Linked DNA regions of Homo sapiens: region 2 is linked to region 1. Evidence: promoter capture Hi-C in 16 types of primary human blood cells and fetal thymus (Javierre and others, 2016). All regions are on one chromosome and are shown on one strand. Each heading gives the region's core, a stretch centred on a gene start or on the middle of the fragment in contact. The rest is flanking DNA. Distances are from core to core; before and after follow the strand shown.

Evidence for each region. Contacts are between HindIII fragments. The CHiCAGO score rates a contact against its expected background, and 5 or more counts as called.
Region 2: a contact is called between a fragment that was not itself captured here and the fragment with the promoter of RNF41 in region 1, in 1 of 17 cell types (erythroblasts). The highest score is 5.3, in erythroblasts.

What each region holds. Positions count from the first base shown.
Region 1 is chr12:56,217,806-56,225,706 of GRCh38, reverse strand. It overlaps RNF41 (ring finger protein 41), which reads left to right and starts at 3,785. Exons shown (of 7, transcript NM_005785.4): 1 at 3,785-3,947. NABP2 (nucleic acid binding protein 2) reads right to left here and starts at 1,365. Exons shown (of 7, transcript NM_024068.4): 1 at 1,266-1,365; 2 at 772-873; 3 at 196-334; 4 at 12-83. The coding sequence starts at 850. RefSeq lists a silencer at 1,277-1,516 and enhancers at 2,248-2,542, 1,959-2,892, 3,374-3,593, 2,893-3,827, 3,814-3,863. The HindIII fragment of the contact is 1,612 bases long and covers 3,294-4,905 here.
Region 2 is chr12:56,290,199-56,298,099 of GRCh38, reverse strand. All of the region lies in intron 1 of CS (citrate synthase), which reads left to right. Among named protein-coding and RNA genes, the nearest start is that of CS, 6.2 kb to the left of the region's middle. The HindIII fragment of the contact is 7,341 bases long and covers 189-7,529 here.

The DNA.
Region 1 (7,901 bases), core at 2,536-5,035:
ACAGCACTTACTCTCCAATCTTCTGCAGATCACCCCCACGGCCAGTATATAGTGTCAGACAACCTTTGAAAACTGAAGCGTACCTATGGGAGGCAAAAAAAGCAAAATTCAGTACTCAGAAGTGTTATAGGGACTGTTAACCCCACTCTTGATTGTTGTTGCCTTTGGAAGGCCAGAAGTCACCAGCTGACTTACCCTTTGGTGAGCCGGATAATGTCCCCAGGCTGGATCAGATTGCCAACATCGTCCCAGACAGAGATATTGATGCTGCCTGTTTTGTCCGCCACTTTGCAGGTCCGAACCTCATGCCCGTCCTTTGTCTTGGTCACTCGGCCTGAACGGAACAGATAAATCGAGGTGGGAGGATGGTCAAATAAATGGAGTGGTATCTCTCAGAAGGATGAGATGTGGATATTGGTGGAATGAGGGAAAAGGTGTACAAACAGGGGAAAGCCCAAATCCCTGGGGCATAAAGGGTTGGGATTGTGGAAGGGGTGGTGGAGGGTGGAGGTGGGAGTTCAGGGGCCAGCACCATGGAGAGGGCCCTGAGTGGAAAGAGGCCCGCGTCGCACAGGAGGTCTAGATCTGGCAAGAGTTCTATCTACCCTATACCTGACTGCAACTTTCTGTCCCAGGGTCGAAGAGATTGGGAGTGAGGAGTGTCTTGCAGCTTGCCTTGCCATCCCCATAGCAAGTTAAGAACGCAGACAGCGTTCTTCCCCTCCTGCCCCCGACCCCCATCCCGCGAACCCGCCACCCCAGTATAGACACCTGTCTCCAGCACAATGAAGATAAGGTTCAGATTCTTGAGCCCAGGCTTGATATCCTTCACAAAGGTCTCCGTCGTCATGCTGCCTGAGCCTCGGCACCCCACTGGATGGGGAATAGAGGATGAAGGCTCAATGCTTGGATCCTTTGCCCCCATGCTCCACTTCCCAAGGCCTACCTACCCCATTAGGCTGGGGTCAGGCAGCCTCAACCCCTCTAACCCTTCTAAAAGATTAAAAAAGAACATCCCCGGAGGCCTCCAACTTCAGGATCAGAATTTGGGGGTCTCTGGACAGGCTGCTTTGGGGCTGGAAGGCCCCCTGCCGGGATGCTCTTTTAGTCTCAAGCCGCGAAGTGGCGGAGCCGACGTAGACAGGGGTAGGGAACCCGGTGCACAGCCAGGGAGTAGAATCTTACTGGCCAGATCTTCCGGAACCCTCATCCCGACAAGCCGGGACTCGGTCCATCCCCTCCCCTACCCGCAGCCCACCACCCACCCAAGCCAGCCGGCAGGACTGTGCACGCCGCTGAGCAGCCCGCAGGGGGAGCCACAGGCTCCGCTGCCGCCGGATGCTGCCCCGTGGAACGCGGGAGTGCGGACATTCCCGGAAGTTTCCCCCGGCTGGCCTCCTCCGGCCAATCAGCACCGCCCGGGCGCGCCCTGCGTCCCGCCGCCTGCCCTGCCCAGCCAATCGGGATCAGAGACTCGTGCGCCGCGAAGGGGGCGAATTTCAGGTATTAAAGGAACCTTGGAGATAGTTGGCTCTGTAGGGGGAAAAATCCACCACTAGAAGGCGCACAGGGCCCCCAGTTTTCCTTAACTTGGCTAGGGAGAATGCACTTAGGTTCTAAGACGTTTCTTTCCAAAGAGTGACACAATGGGAAAAGGAGCAAGGGCTTCGGAATCTGGCGGACAAAAGTTTGAATCCTGGCTCAATGCTTCACTTCATTTCTCGACTATTTAAACATATGTAATTCCAATTCCGCAAGGCGCGGTGGCTCACGCCTGTAATCCCAGCACGTAGGGAGGCATAGGCTGGAGGATAGCATGAGTCCAGGAGTTCCAGACCTGCCTGGGCAATATAACGAGACCCCATTCTCCACAAAAAGGGAAAAAAAGACAAAAAATATGTAATTCCATCTTACGAGAAAACGGAAGTTATATTTAAAAAAGTGCCTTGCACACAGTAGGCACACACGGTTTCCTCCCTTTTTATTGCTCTAACCGTTATCTTTGTTCCTGATTTGGGGTTCTCATCTTTAATGCACTACCCAGCTTGGTCAAGGTCTCTGGGAAAAGTGGCATTTACACCAGAGACAAAAGGCAGGCTCACCCTTCTTGGAAGAAATGGAACCTGCGACAAAGAGAGAAACATTGTTAGTCCCTTTTTTTTTTTTTTTTGAAACAGGGTCTCGCTGTGTAACCCAGGCTGGAGTGTAGTGGTGCAATCTTGGCTTACTGCAACCTCCCACCACAGCCTCCGTAGTAGCTGGTACTACAGGTTCGCACTACCACCCTCGGCTAATTTCTGTATTTTTTTTGTAGAGACAGTTTCGCCATGTTTCCCAGGCTGGTCTCGGACTCATGACCTCAAGGGATCCGCCCACCTCGTCCTCCCAAAGTGCTAGGATTACAGGCGTGAGCCGCTGCACCTGGCCATACTACTCTTCCCCGCCCCGCCCCACCGCTCCACCCCGGCAAAGGAGTCTTGCTCTGTCGCCCAGGTTGGAGTGCAGTGGCGCGATCTCGGCTCACTGCAATGCAACCTCTGCCTCCCGGGTTCAAGCGATTCTCCTGTCTCAGCCTCCCGAGTAGCTGGGATTACAGGCGCCCGCCACCACGCCCGGCTACTTTTTTTGTATTTTTAGTAGAGACGGGGTTTCACCACGTTGGCCAGCCTGGGCTCAAACTCCTGACCTCGTGATCCACCAGCCTCGGTCTCCCAAAGTGTTGGGATTAAAGGCATGAACCACCGCGCCCGGCCATACTACTCTTATCTTACTTATCTCAGAGTCCCGCTAGAAGACAGCAGAAAGGAGGCCTGAAACTTTAGTTCCTTTTGGGACCTGTCAAATTGTCCACAAAAGGTAGCTAGCTCTGTATTGTTGTGTATAAACAAATTACATAAAGATATGTGTGTATGTGTGTATTAATGTGCATTAGCATTTGCTTAGCCAATGTCCACAATAAATACCATACTATTTAATACCAGATTAGTCTAGGAAGTCATGTGATTGTAATGCCTTGGTTTGCTTAATTAATCCCTTATCTGCTCACGGAGCTCTTTAGGCTCCACATTGACTTCCCTTGGATCCCACGTTCTCTACCGCCCACATCCCCAACACCACGGTGTTGTAAGCTAAGGAAATCAAACCCCAACTCAGGAAGAGGGAAATTTTTTCTCCCTTCCTTCCTCTTAGGTGTTTCAGGGAACTCCACAAGTGTTCGGGGAGCCATCGTGGATACGGCAGGAGAGCGCCTGGGAGAGAGGCAGACAACCCGTTGAGCACCCCAGATCTAAGCTTTGCGGTCAGACTCCCTCACTCCCCACCCCGCGGCCGCCTTGTTAACTGCAATATCCATTCCCATGACAGGAGTCAAGGGGTTACGAAGCTCTGGGATGCTGACCAGGGCTCTGGAAAAGGGAGAGGGGCCGGACCCGCAGCAGGTCACGCTGCAGGCCTGCCTCTCCGCAATGATCTCGCAACAATCTGCGTCAGCTCTAAGACACAAGTCACCTGCACCCCTCCAAAGCGAAGCGTGGCCGGCCAGGCCCACACGTTTTTGCCGGGAAGAACATAGAGTTCTCCCTCCTAAATGGCTACATAGTCCTGGCTGGGACCATATAGACTCTAGACTAGACTTCCTGTCTAGAGTGGAGGCCTGGCCAGCCTTCGTCCCTCCTCGTAGGCAGCTCCTGGCTGCTGGTGTAGGGGCTGAGTTAAACAAAGAGGCGGGGTTTGGTGACGAGCTTCCGCCGGGTTGCGTAGCAGCGGTGGGCGGGGCAAAGGATCCGTCTGAGGCGGCGACGAGTGGTAGGAGTCTTCTTTCCCCTCCTTCCCCTTTCCCTTCCCTTCCCGGGAGAGGCTGGGACCCGGCACCAGGGCAGTACTGTGGCCGCTGCGGCCTCAGCTCCGACTGGGTCAGGTTGCGGAGACTCCAGGCCGCTTCCAGGGCGGTGCGTACTGCGCCTGCGCGATCTTCCACCTAAAAGAGGGTGTGGGAGGGGAGGAGGTGATGTCCCAGGGGTATTGGGGCGGGGGGTTGAAATAACTGGGGTTCAGGAGGAGGGATGGTGGTAGAGATAAAAATGTGAGAAGGGAGCAGCACTGGCGAGGAGTCGGGAGGTGAGAAGGGGGCTCTGGAGAACGGGTTGTTGGGGAAGGTCCATTGGAATAGGGGAGCTTTGAGAAGTGCGGGAGGGGGCCGGGGCTAGCTGGAGGACCGGCACCTGCAGAACTGGGGGAACAGCGTGGTGTTTAAATGGGCAATGATTGACGGGCCAGAAGGGGAGGAAGGGAGCATTCCGGGGGCCAGCCTGGGCAGGGGCGGTGGAACCTAAACCCCCGCCCTCGAAGCGCCATAGCTTGGCTCCTCTCCCATGCCTTGTCGTTGGCAGCCTTGTCCTCTCATTCCTTCCCCGCTCCTCACCCCCTCCCAGCCCTCCATGAAGGAATCTCACATTCTTCACATCCCTGCGCTTGGTTTGCAGCCTGGCTCTCTGGCAGGGTTCACACACCACACACTGGAAGGCCTTCCCTAACTCAGGACTTTGGGAAATTGGGTAGTGGGGAGGAGGGGGCTAGAGGAAGAGCAGAAAGCCAGGAGGGGTGAAGGCGTTTTGCTTGAGGGATTGACAGACTGCTTCCCCGTTCAGAAACTTCATTTCATTTAATAGCAAGTGGGGCTGTTATTGAGGCCACTGTTCTTGGGGACTGGCCCGTGATAGTGTTATCCCTTTCTATACAGGGGTTTTAGAGTCTGACAATAGGGCAAGAGACTGATAGTGTTGTTGGCTGATAGTTTTGCCCCAAATAAGAATGTAGTGGACTAGTGGTAGGGAATGTGAGTGATGCAATGTTAAGCCGACCGACCTGTGGCTAGCCCTGCCTTCTAGTAAAAAGAAGGAACAAGCTTTTGTCAAGCATTTCCTCTCCGACTCTCAGTACTCTAAATTTATTTTGCATTCTTGTTTTTTTTTTTTTTTGAAACGGAGTCTCACTCTGTCACCCACGCTGGAGTGCAGTGGCACAATCTCGGCTCAGTGCCACCTCTTTCTGGGTTCAAGCGATTCTCCTGCCTCAGCCTCTTGAATAGCTGGGATTACAGGTACCTGCCACCATGCCTGGCTAATTTTTTGTATTTTTAGTTGAGATGGGGTTTCACCATGTTGGCCAGGCTGGTCTCAAACCTCTGACTGTAGCCGGGCGCGGTGGCTCACGCCTGTAATCCTAGCACTTTGGGAGGACGAGGCGGGCGGATTGCCTGAGCTCAAAAGTTCGAGACCAGCCTGGGCAACACAGTGAAACCCCGTCTCTACTAAAAATATAAAAAATTAGCCGGGGCATGGCTGCATGCACCTGTAGTCCCAGCTACTTGGGAAGCTGAGGCAGGAGAATTGCTTGAACCCAGGAGGCAGAGGTTGCAGTGAGCTGAGATTCCACCACTGAACTCCAACCTGGGCAACAGAGTGAGACTCTGTCTCCCCACACCCCCCGCCAAAAAAAACAAAACAAAACCCTGACCTCAGGTGATTGGTCCATCTCGGCTTCCCAAAGTGCTAGGATTACAGGCATGAGCCACTGCACCCAGCCTTATTTTGTATTCTGTTGCTACAAATAATCTTACTTGAGGATAACAGTATTCAGTATCCTTTCATATTTATTTATTTATTTATTTATTTATTTATTTATTTATTTTTGAGACAGGGTCTCACTCTGTCACCCAGGCCGGAGTGCGGTGCTGCGATCTCTGCTCACTGCAACCTCTGCCTCCTCGGCTCAGTTGACCTTCCCCCTTCAGCCTCCTCAGTAGCCGGGACTACAGGCACTCACGCCATCATGCCCGGCTAATTTTTGTATTTTTTGTAGAGACAAGGTTTCACTATGTTGCCCAGGCTGGTCTCAAACTCTTGGACTCAGGTGATCCACTCACTTCGGCCTCCCAAAGTGCTGGGATTACGGGTGTGAGCCACTGCGTCCAGCCTCCTTTCGTATTTATTATTTCATTTGATTTGCAGACAGTATGTATAAGGGGTGCGCGCGTGTATATACACATATATACACACACACACATATATACACCTTATATTACGCCGGGCGCAGTGGCTCACGCCTGTAATCCCAGCACTTTGGGAGGCCAAAGGTGGTGGATCATATGAGGCCAGTTTGAGACCAGCCTGGCCAACATGTTGAAACCCTGTCTCTACTAAAATATAAAAATTGGCTGGGCGCGGTGGCTCACGCCTGTAATCCCAGCACTTTGGGAGGCCGAGGCAGGCAGATCACGAGGTCAGGAGATCAAGATCATCCTGGCTAACGTGGTGAAACCCTGTCTCTACTAAAAATAAAAAAAAAAAATTAGCTGGGCGTCCTGGCGGGCGCCTGTAGTCCCAGCTACTTGGGAGGCTGGGGCAGGAGAATGGTGTGAACCTGGGAGGCGGAACTTGTAGTGAGCCGAGATCGCATCACTGCACTCCAGCCTGGGTGACAGAGCCAGACTCCGTCTCAAAAAAAAAATAAATAAATAAATAAATAAAATAAAAATTAGCCTGGCATGGTGACACATGCCTGTGATCCCAGCTACTCAGGAGGCTGAGGCAGGAGAATTGTTTGAACCTGGGAAGTGGAGGTTGGAGTGAGCTGAGGAGATTGCATCACTGCACTCCATCCTGAGCGACAGAGGAAGACTCCATCTCAAAAAAAAAAAGAAAAATAGGCCAAGCATGGTGGCTCACGCCTATAATCCCAGCACTTTGGGAGGCCGAGGCGGGCGGATCACAAGGTCAGGAGATTGAGACCATCCTGGCCAACATGGTGAAACCCCGTCTCTACTAAAAATACAAAAATTAGCTCAGCATGGTGGCACATGCCTGTAGTCCCAGCTACTTGGGAGGATGAGGCAGGAGAATCGCTTGAACCCGGGAGGCAGAGGTTGCAGTGAGCCAAGATCGTGCCACTGTACTCCAGCCTGGCGACAGAGCAACACTTTGTCTCAAAAAAAAAATAACATATATATATATAATAAATATGTATATATTATATATACCTTATATTAATATATAAGGCAGGTATCATTTTCCCTACTTGACAGTTGAAGCAACAGAAAAACTACAGCAGGGTTACTTGACTTGTTTAAATGTGTAGATTTGGGGGTGGGCGCAGTGGCTGGTGCCTGTAATCCCAGCACTTCGGGAGGCTGAGGTGGGAGGATTGCTGGAGCCTGCCCAGGAGTTCAAGACCAGCCTGGGCAACATGGCAAAACCCCATCTCTACCAAAAATACAAAAATTAGCCAGGCATGGTGGTGTGTGCCTGTGGTCCCAGCTATTTGGGAGACTGAGGTGGGAGGATTGCTGGAGCCTGCTGGGAAGGCGAGGCTGTAGTGAGCTATGATCATGCCACTGTACTCCAGCCTGGGCAATAGAGCAAGACCCTATCTCAAAAAAATAATAATAATTTATGTGGGCCAGGCGCGGTGGCTCACACTTGTAATCCCAGCATTTTGGGAGGCTGAGGCGGGTGGATCACCTGAGGTCAGGAGTTCGAGACCAGCCTGGCCAACATGGTGAAACCCCGTCTCTACTAAAAATACAAAAATTAGCCGGGCATGGTGGTGGGTGCCTGTAATCCTAGCTACTCTGGAGGCTGAGGTAGGAGAATCACTTGAACTCGGGAGGCCAAGGCTTCAGTGAGCCAAGATCGCGCCATTGCACTCTAGCCTAGGTGACAGAGCGAGACTCTATCTCGAAATAATAATAATAATTTATGTGAAAGCACTTTGGAAACATTAAAGCAGCATCCCCAGCCTTTTTGTGGAAGATAGTTTTTCCACAGATGGTGGGCGAGGGGATGGTTTTGTGATGGAACTCTACCACCTCAGATCATCAGGCATTAGATTCTCATAGGGAGTGG
Region 2 (7,901 bases), core at 2,610-5,109, 72 kb before region 1:
TCAAACCCAGGAGGCGGATGTTGTGGTGAGCCCAGATCGCTCCATTGCACTCCAGCCTGGGCAACAAGAGCGAAACTCCGTTTCAAAGAGAAAAAAAAGGGCGGGGGGGGTAGCAAAGCCCAATAATGAGTTTATTGGACTGGAAATCTCCTGAGAAATAAGCAATATGACCAGGGTACCAAGAAGCTTGTTGGCTTGTCAGCATTGCTAGCACCTGCCTGTGCTTTCTAGATTAGCCTGTGGATAATGCTAGTCATAATTGGTAATTTTACTTTTGCTAGTAAGGTAGACTTTGGGAGGCAGTAATTTCCTACCAGGGAGAACTGACTCTTACCACTTTGAGTCTCAGCGTCAGGTGTAGTTTTACTTTTCTGAGAAGAAATTTTTTTTTGTTTTGAGACAGAGTCTTACTCTGTCACTCAGGCTGGAGTGCAGTGGCGTAATCTCCGCTCACTGTAACCTCTGCCTCCCAGGCTCAAGCGATTCTCGTGACTCAGCCTCCTGAGTAGCTGGGGTTAGCAGGTGTGCACCACCACGCCCAGCTAATTTTTTGTATTTTTGGTAGAGACGGGGTTTCACCATATTGGCCAGACTGGCGAATTTTTTTAACCTTACTAGGAGACAACATGTGAATTAGTCATTGTTCTATTGTTCTACTCTCACTGTCACATAATTTAAATGTCACATAATTTAAAACACCTGAGTTAGAAGCTAATTCAGAGAGCTTTGAGATTATTTGACTTCTTGTTTATCCAAATTCATTAATGCTAAGCAATGGCCTTAGTATTATCTGTGGGTGACTCAGTTTTGTGACATCAAAAATGTCTTTTCACAGATGATCTGGGTTTGGATTTGGGCTAGGAATTGAAGTAGGGCTGCAGTTCACTTCTGGACTTTTGAAGTCAACATGCTTAACCAACCCTAGCTAAAGGGAACTGTCTCTTGAGCCACTGAAAATTGCTTCTCCAAGCTAGTATGTTTGAAACTGAGTAAATCAATTCAAAGATGTTTCTAGATTACTTCTAGACTTTTTCAAGACACTTAAATGCAAAGGAACCAATGGTTTCTTTACATTGGACTTATACCACTGTACAACATCACCTGTATAAGTCCTACTCAGAAATTGGGTTCAACAAAACCGAGTTGGTTTTGTCCTGCAAAATATTTAGTTAGGTTTTAAAGCCCAAATTTTTTAAAGGTAAGGGCTCATATCTCTGTGCCCTCACTTTGACTATCAGCCTACCCAAAGTAACGGTGATTCCTTGATACTAGAATGGCAGGGGAAGCCTTATGGGGTGTTAGTGGTGAGATGACTGCATTTGGTCTTCCCAGTGGCCTTTAGGTTGGTAGCAGGTGAATGAATGCATGGGGAGGCAGCAAGAATAGTATGGTAGGTAGCAGCGATAGAGTTGGCATTCCTGACTTAAAATCCAAGGGGCAGCAGAAGGGAAACCAGACTTGGTGGATTTCAATAAAGCCACACAATGATTCTTTCTGCCCTGTGTCAATACTTTATGCAACAGAGTAGGATGTGAAATTTAAAACCGTAATGAGGCAACTGTAGCAATAGATCTTTCTTAGCATCTGATTATCTTTCAGTTCTGGCTTCAACTGTGCTTCAACTGCACAAGTTCCTTAGTTCTCTGTTTTGGGTTTTTTTTGGGGGGTGGGGCTGGAGTGCAGTGGTGCGAACATGGCTTGCTATTACTACAGCCTCAACCTCATGGGCCCAAGCAATCCCCCCGAGTAGCTGGGACCACAGGCACGCACAGCCACGCCTGGCTAATTTTTTTGTAGTTTTTTTGGAGACAGTGTTTTGCCATGTTGTCCAGGCTGGTTTCGAACTCCTGGGCTCAAGCAATCCACCAGTCTCAGCTTCCCAAAGTGCTGAGATTACAGGCGTGAGCCACTGCACCCAGCCCTCTGTATTTCTTTTAACATGATGCTATTTTAAAAGGTCTGTAAACTCACAGTGGGCATTGTCACCTGTAATGCTTGCTTATGTTGCAGTTTCCTGGATCCTACCTTCAGATTACAATTCTGCAAAGTAGGATGGGATCTGGAAAAGTTTCTTGTAAATCCCTAAAGTGTCAGGGAGTTAAAACTTGTAAGAACTTCTTTTTTTTTTTTTTTTTTTTTTTTTTTTTTGAGACAGTTTCGCTCTGTCGCCTAGGCTAGAGTGCGGTGGCTCGATCCCGGCTCACTGCAAGATCCGCCTCTGGGGTTCACGCCATTCTCCTGCCTCAGCCTCCTGAGTAGCTGGGACTGTAGGCGCCCACCACCTCGCCCCGCTAATTTTTTGTATTTTTAGTAGAGACAGGGTTTCACCGTGTTAGCCAGGATGGTCTCGATCTCCTGACCTCGTGATCCGCCCGCCTCCACCTCCCACAGTGCTGGGATTACAGGCGTGAGCTGCCGCGCCCAGCCATAAAACTTCTACGAACTTCTAGCAGAAGTAAGGGAATAGTTTCTAATTCCTGAGAAAGTATTATGATGACAGATCCTATATTCTTTATTCACTAGTATATACTTAGTGTACACATAATAAGTAGGTGTTCAAGAATTTTTTTTTTTTCCTTGAGATGGAGTCTCGCTCTGTCACCCAGGCTGGAGTGCAGTGGTGTGATCTCGGCTCACTGCAACCTCTGCCTCCCGGGTTCAAGCTATTCTCCTGCCTCAGCCTCCCTAGTAGCTGGGACTACAGGCACATGCCACCACGCCGGGCTAATTTTTGTATTTTTAGTAGAGATGGGGTTTCACCATGTTGGCCAGGATGGTCTTGAACTCCTGACCTCGTGATCCACCCGCCTCAGCCTCCCAAAATGCTGGGATTACAGGCATGAGCCACCGTGCCCGGCCAAGAAATATTTATTAGCTAGGCATGATGGCTTATGTCTATAATTCCAGCACTTTGGGAGGCTGAGGTAGGAGGATCACTTGAGCCCAGTAGTTTGAGATCAGCCTGGCAACATAGCAAGACCTTGTCTCTTAAAAAAAAAAAAAAAGTTCATTAAATTAAAGTACAATAAGTGTTGGCCAGGCACAGTGGCTCACGCCTGTAATCCCAGCCCTTTGGGAGACTGAGGTGGGCAGATCACTTGAGGTCAGGAGTTCGAGACCAGCCTGGCCAACATGGTGAAACCCTGTCTCTACTAAAAATACAAAAATCAGCCAATCGTGGCAGCTGCCTGTAATCCCAGCTACTAGGGAAGCTGAGGCACAAGAATCACTTGAATCCGGGTGGCAGAGGTTGCTGTGAGCTGAGATCATGCCACTGCACTCCAGCCTGGGCAATAGAGTGAGACTCGTCTCAACAAAAGAACAGTAAGTGTTCCTACTGAAAGGAAAGTTTAATACTTGTGATTCCTGGCTGGGCATGGTGGCAGGCACCTATAATCCCAGCTACTCGGGAGGCTGAGGCAGGAGAATCGCTTGAACCCAGGGGGTGGAGGTTTCAGTGAGCCGAGATCGCACCACTGCACTCCAGCCTGGGTGACAGAGACTCTGTCTCAAAAAACAAAAATAGACTTGTGATTCCTTTCTGAAGATGGAAGCTGGAGGAGTATCTTTTGCAGTCCTCCTTACTGAGTGATCAGTGCATCTTTTTTTTTTTTTTTTTTTTTTTTGAGACAGAGTCTTGCTCTGTCGCCCAGGCTGGAGTACAGTGGCATGATCTCGGCTCACTGCAACCTCTGCCTCCTGGGTTCAAGCAATTGTCCTTTCTCAGCTTCCCGGTTAGCTGAGATTACAGGTGTGCGCCACCGTGCCCGACTAATTTTTGCATTTTTAGTAGAGACAGGGTTTCACCATCTTGGCCAGACTGGTCTTGAACCCCTCACCTCAGGTGATCGGCCTACCTTGGCCTCCCAAAGTGCTGGGATTACAGGCATGAGCCACTGCACCCAGCAGTGATCGGTGACTATTCACGTGAAGAGACTGTTGGAAAATGACAGTTAGGTAGAATTATTAAGGAAATGTCTGTAAGTATGAAGGAGGTCAAAGTATGAAATCTGTAGATTGCTCAGGCTTTTAAGTGGCCTGACCATGTAGTGCCAAACCGACTTCCAGTATCACCGTTGTGAAACACACACATTAAATGGCTTTAGTTCTCTGACCTGGTTCTGGGGAGAGAGGAGCCTTTGTCCTATTTGTGTTCGTGTTCTCTGAATGCAAGTTGTTCCTTCTGCATTGGAAGTGTCTGTAGTACAGGATTTTTTCCTACTGGTTATTAGTGTATTGTGTTTGCTCCATCAGCTAAGCCAGTCCTGCTGGCTTGGCAAGCTCTGATCTTTTGTTGATGAAGGACGAAGTCCCTGTTAAAATCAGGAGCTTCTTCCGCAAGGTTTTTCTGTTTTGTTTTCTAATTTTTTTTAGTATTATTATTTTGAGACGGAGTCTTGCTCTGTCACCCAGGCTGGAGTGCAATGGCGCAATCTCAGCTCACTGCAACCTCCGTCTCCCAGGTCCAGGCGATTCTGCCTCAGCCTCCCGAGTAGCTGGGACTATAGGCATGTGCCACCACGCCTGGCTAATTTTTGTATTTTTAGTAGAGATGGGGTGTCACCATGTTGGCCAGGCTGGTCTTGAACTCCTGACATCAGGTGATCCACCCACCTTGGCCTCCCAAGGTGTTGGGATTACAGGCGTGAGCCACCGTGTCCAGCCTGTTTTCTAATTTTTTAAATTATTTTTTGTAGAGACAGAGTCTTGCTTTTTAATTCAGAAATGCTGGGATTATAGGCATGAGCCACTGCGCCCAGCCTCCCCCAAGGTTTTAATGTTGGTTATGTGGATATGTGGTAGGACATATCCTGGATATGCAGAAGGACAGAGAGAGTCTGGATGTACCTAGGATGGAGAATCAAAGAAAATTTGGCTTCTTGACTGTAGGGTGAGGGTGCTAGATGTGGAACAGTGATGGTAATAGGCTAAGGAGTAAGAGGAAAATAACCTATATTGAGTAAGTGGGCTTTTTTTGTTTTGTTTTGTTTTTTGAGACAGAGTCTCCTCTGTTGCCCAGGCTGGAGTGCAGTAGCACAATCTCAGCTCACTGCAGCTTCAGCCACCTGGGTTCAAGCGATTCTTCTGCCTCAGCCTCCTGTTTGAAATGCTTGTTCCCTGGTGCTGTAAAGAAATAGCACTTGAACATAAATTTAATTAATTTAATTTAATTTACTCAGCAAGGCCTTTTTTTTTGAGACAGAGTCTCACTCTGTCGCCCAGGCTGGAGTGCAGTGGTGCGAACTCGGCTCACTGCAAGCTCTGCCTCCCAGGTTCACGCCATTCTCCTGCCTCAGCCTCCTGAGTAGCTGGGACTACAGGCGCCCGCCATGACGCCCGGCTAATTTTTTTTTTTTTTTTTTTTTTTTGTATTTTTTTAGTAGAGATGGGGTTTCACCCTGTTAGCCAGGATGGTCTCGATCTCCTGACATCATGATCCGCCTGCCTTGGCCTCCCAAAGTGCTGGGATTACAGGCGTGAGCCACCGCGCCAGGCCATCAAGGCCATTTTTATACTTTCTGCAGAAAGGGTACACGCCAGCAGTTTTGCCACGAGAGTACACCGAGCAAAGGAGACAGGGTCATTTATACCCTGATGCATCCACCCTACTGCTGTGTCCAGTTCCAGTTTCCATTGGCTGGAATGGGACCTCACATTTTGTATTTGTCCTGATTGGCTAGCAACTTAGAACTTTTTTTTTTTTTTTTTTAGACCAAGTCTTGCTCTGTCAGCCAGGCTGGAGTGCAGTGGCACAATCTCGGCTCGCTGCAGGCTTTGCCTCCCGGAGCTTCTCCTGCCTCAGCCTCCCGAGTAGCTGGGACTACAGGCACCTGCCACCACACCTGGCTAATTTTTTGTATTTTTTAATAGAGACGGGGTTTCACCATGTTAGCCAGGATGGTCTTGATCTCCTGACCCCGTGATCTGCCTGCCTTGGCCTCCCAAAGTGCTGGGATTACAGGCTTGAGCCACAGTGCCCAGCTGCAACTTAGAACTTTTTTAAAGAGGCAAAGGCAGAGGAGAACAAAGGAAGGTGTGAGTCACCATACCTGGCCTCTTTTAATTTTTATATTTTTTCATCTTACCACATTTGAGGGCTACAGCCCACCTCTATCAATAATAGCTGACTCACTAGAGGAGTTCTTGTAAGGGGTGGCAACAAATGAGCTCTTAGTGATTGTGGGGGAAAAACCTCTTCGTGATTGTGATAACGCCACCTCCACCCTATAGAGAATACTGGCTGTCAGACATTGTGAGCCAGGCCCTTGTCTTTGGAAGTAGCCCTCTCCATCTCTCCCCATGAAGGAGCTGACCTATTGAGTGAGATGACTGCCTGATTCTCCTGAGAGCTGCTGTTCCAGTAAGGTGACTCTACAGGTGGCATGCATCCAGAAGCCAAAAGCCCAACTGTCACACCTCCAGGATTAGGGGAGAATCTGGGAGGTAGAAGTTCAGGGATGATTCAGAGGTTTGTAATCTACCTGTCTCATCAATGAACATAACCTGAATGTACTGTTCAGAGCCATTCAGCAGCTTTCTTTGGCAGCCACGGGGTAGAGGAAATGAAATGTAGCCTTTGATGTTACAGTCCTCAAGCACCTCCTGTCTAGAGTCATTTGCTCTGCTGGTGGCCATCAGGGTTAGTTAAATTTGTTTCCTCTCCCTGAGATGCCTCCCTTCTTGGTCAAGAAGCCCTTAAAAAGAAAACTGGTATCTTTTCCTTGATGCCTGTTAAAAAAAAAAAAGAAAGAAAGAAAGAAAGAAAATTGGGACTTTATTTTGTATTCCACAGCTGGAAGGAATTATCCATTCACCTCTGCCTCAGGCTTGACTGCCTCTTTCCTGGGATCCAACTCCCAGGAAGTTCTGACACTTGATGGTAGGTGATAGGCCAACACATTTGTAAGAAACAAATATTTACTGAATTCAGCTATGCACAAAGCACTGTTCTAGATGCTTTTATGAAAATTATTTTATTTAGTTTACTTAACTACTCTGAAATTGGCTTTTATTATTACCATTTTAGAAATGTAAAAACTGAGACTTAGAAATTAGGTTACATAGCCAAGATAACACAGTGGGAAGGTGGCAGAACGTTCATTTAGGACTTGGTCCTTGGTAACTCCATATCTAAACTGTTTGGATTCAGTAAGTCTGAGGCCCAAGAAATGTAAATACTTCTGGCGAGGAGGTCACATTTTAAGTAACAAGACTTGACTACTTTTGCATATACGTCCTTATTGGAACCTGAGAATCAGACTCTGAGTTAAGTAGTTTAAGTGTTATCTTAATTATGGAAATGGGAAGAGAAATAGTAGTTCATTGTTTTCCTTTGGTTGTCTTAATTAGTAATGGAGCTAGGACTAGAACCCAGACTTCCTTTCCTAACTCCAAATTAAGTGCTCTGTACTCTACATCATTAGATAAAGTTGTCCTAAGTTGAATTTTTTCTACTCTACCCTTTTGAGCAATCTTACCAATGAATTGCTGCCTTTAAAATTCCTCTGATAACTTTTTTTTTTTAAGCTTCAGGTTTAGCAAAAAACATGACTGAACCTGACACCGAACGGTGCTAGAAAGTGGCTATCAGGCTGAGCGCGGTGGCTCACGCCTGTAATCCCAGCACTTTGGGAGGCCGAGGTGGTGGATCACGAGGTCAGAAGTTCGAGACCAGTCTGGCCAACATAGTGAAACCCCATCTCTACTAAAAATACAAAAAATTAGCCGGGTGTGTTGGTGTGCACCTGTAATCTTAGCTACTCAGGAGGCTGAGGCAGGAGAATAGTGTGAACCTGGGAGAGGGAGGTTGCAATGAGCTAAGATTGTGCCATTGCACTCCAGCCTGGGTGACAGTGTGAGACTCCTTCTCAAAAACAAACAAACAAACAAAAAAACATAAA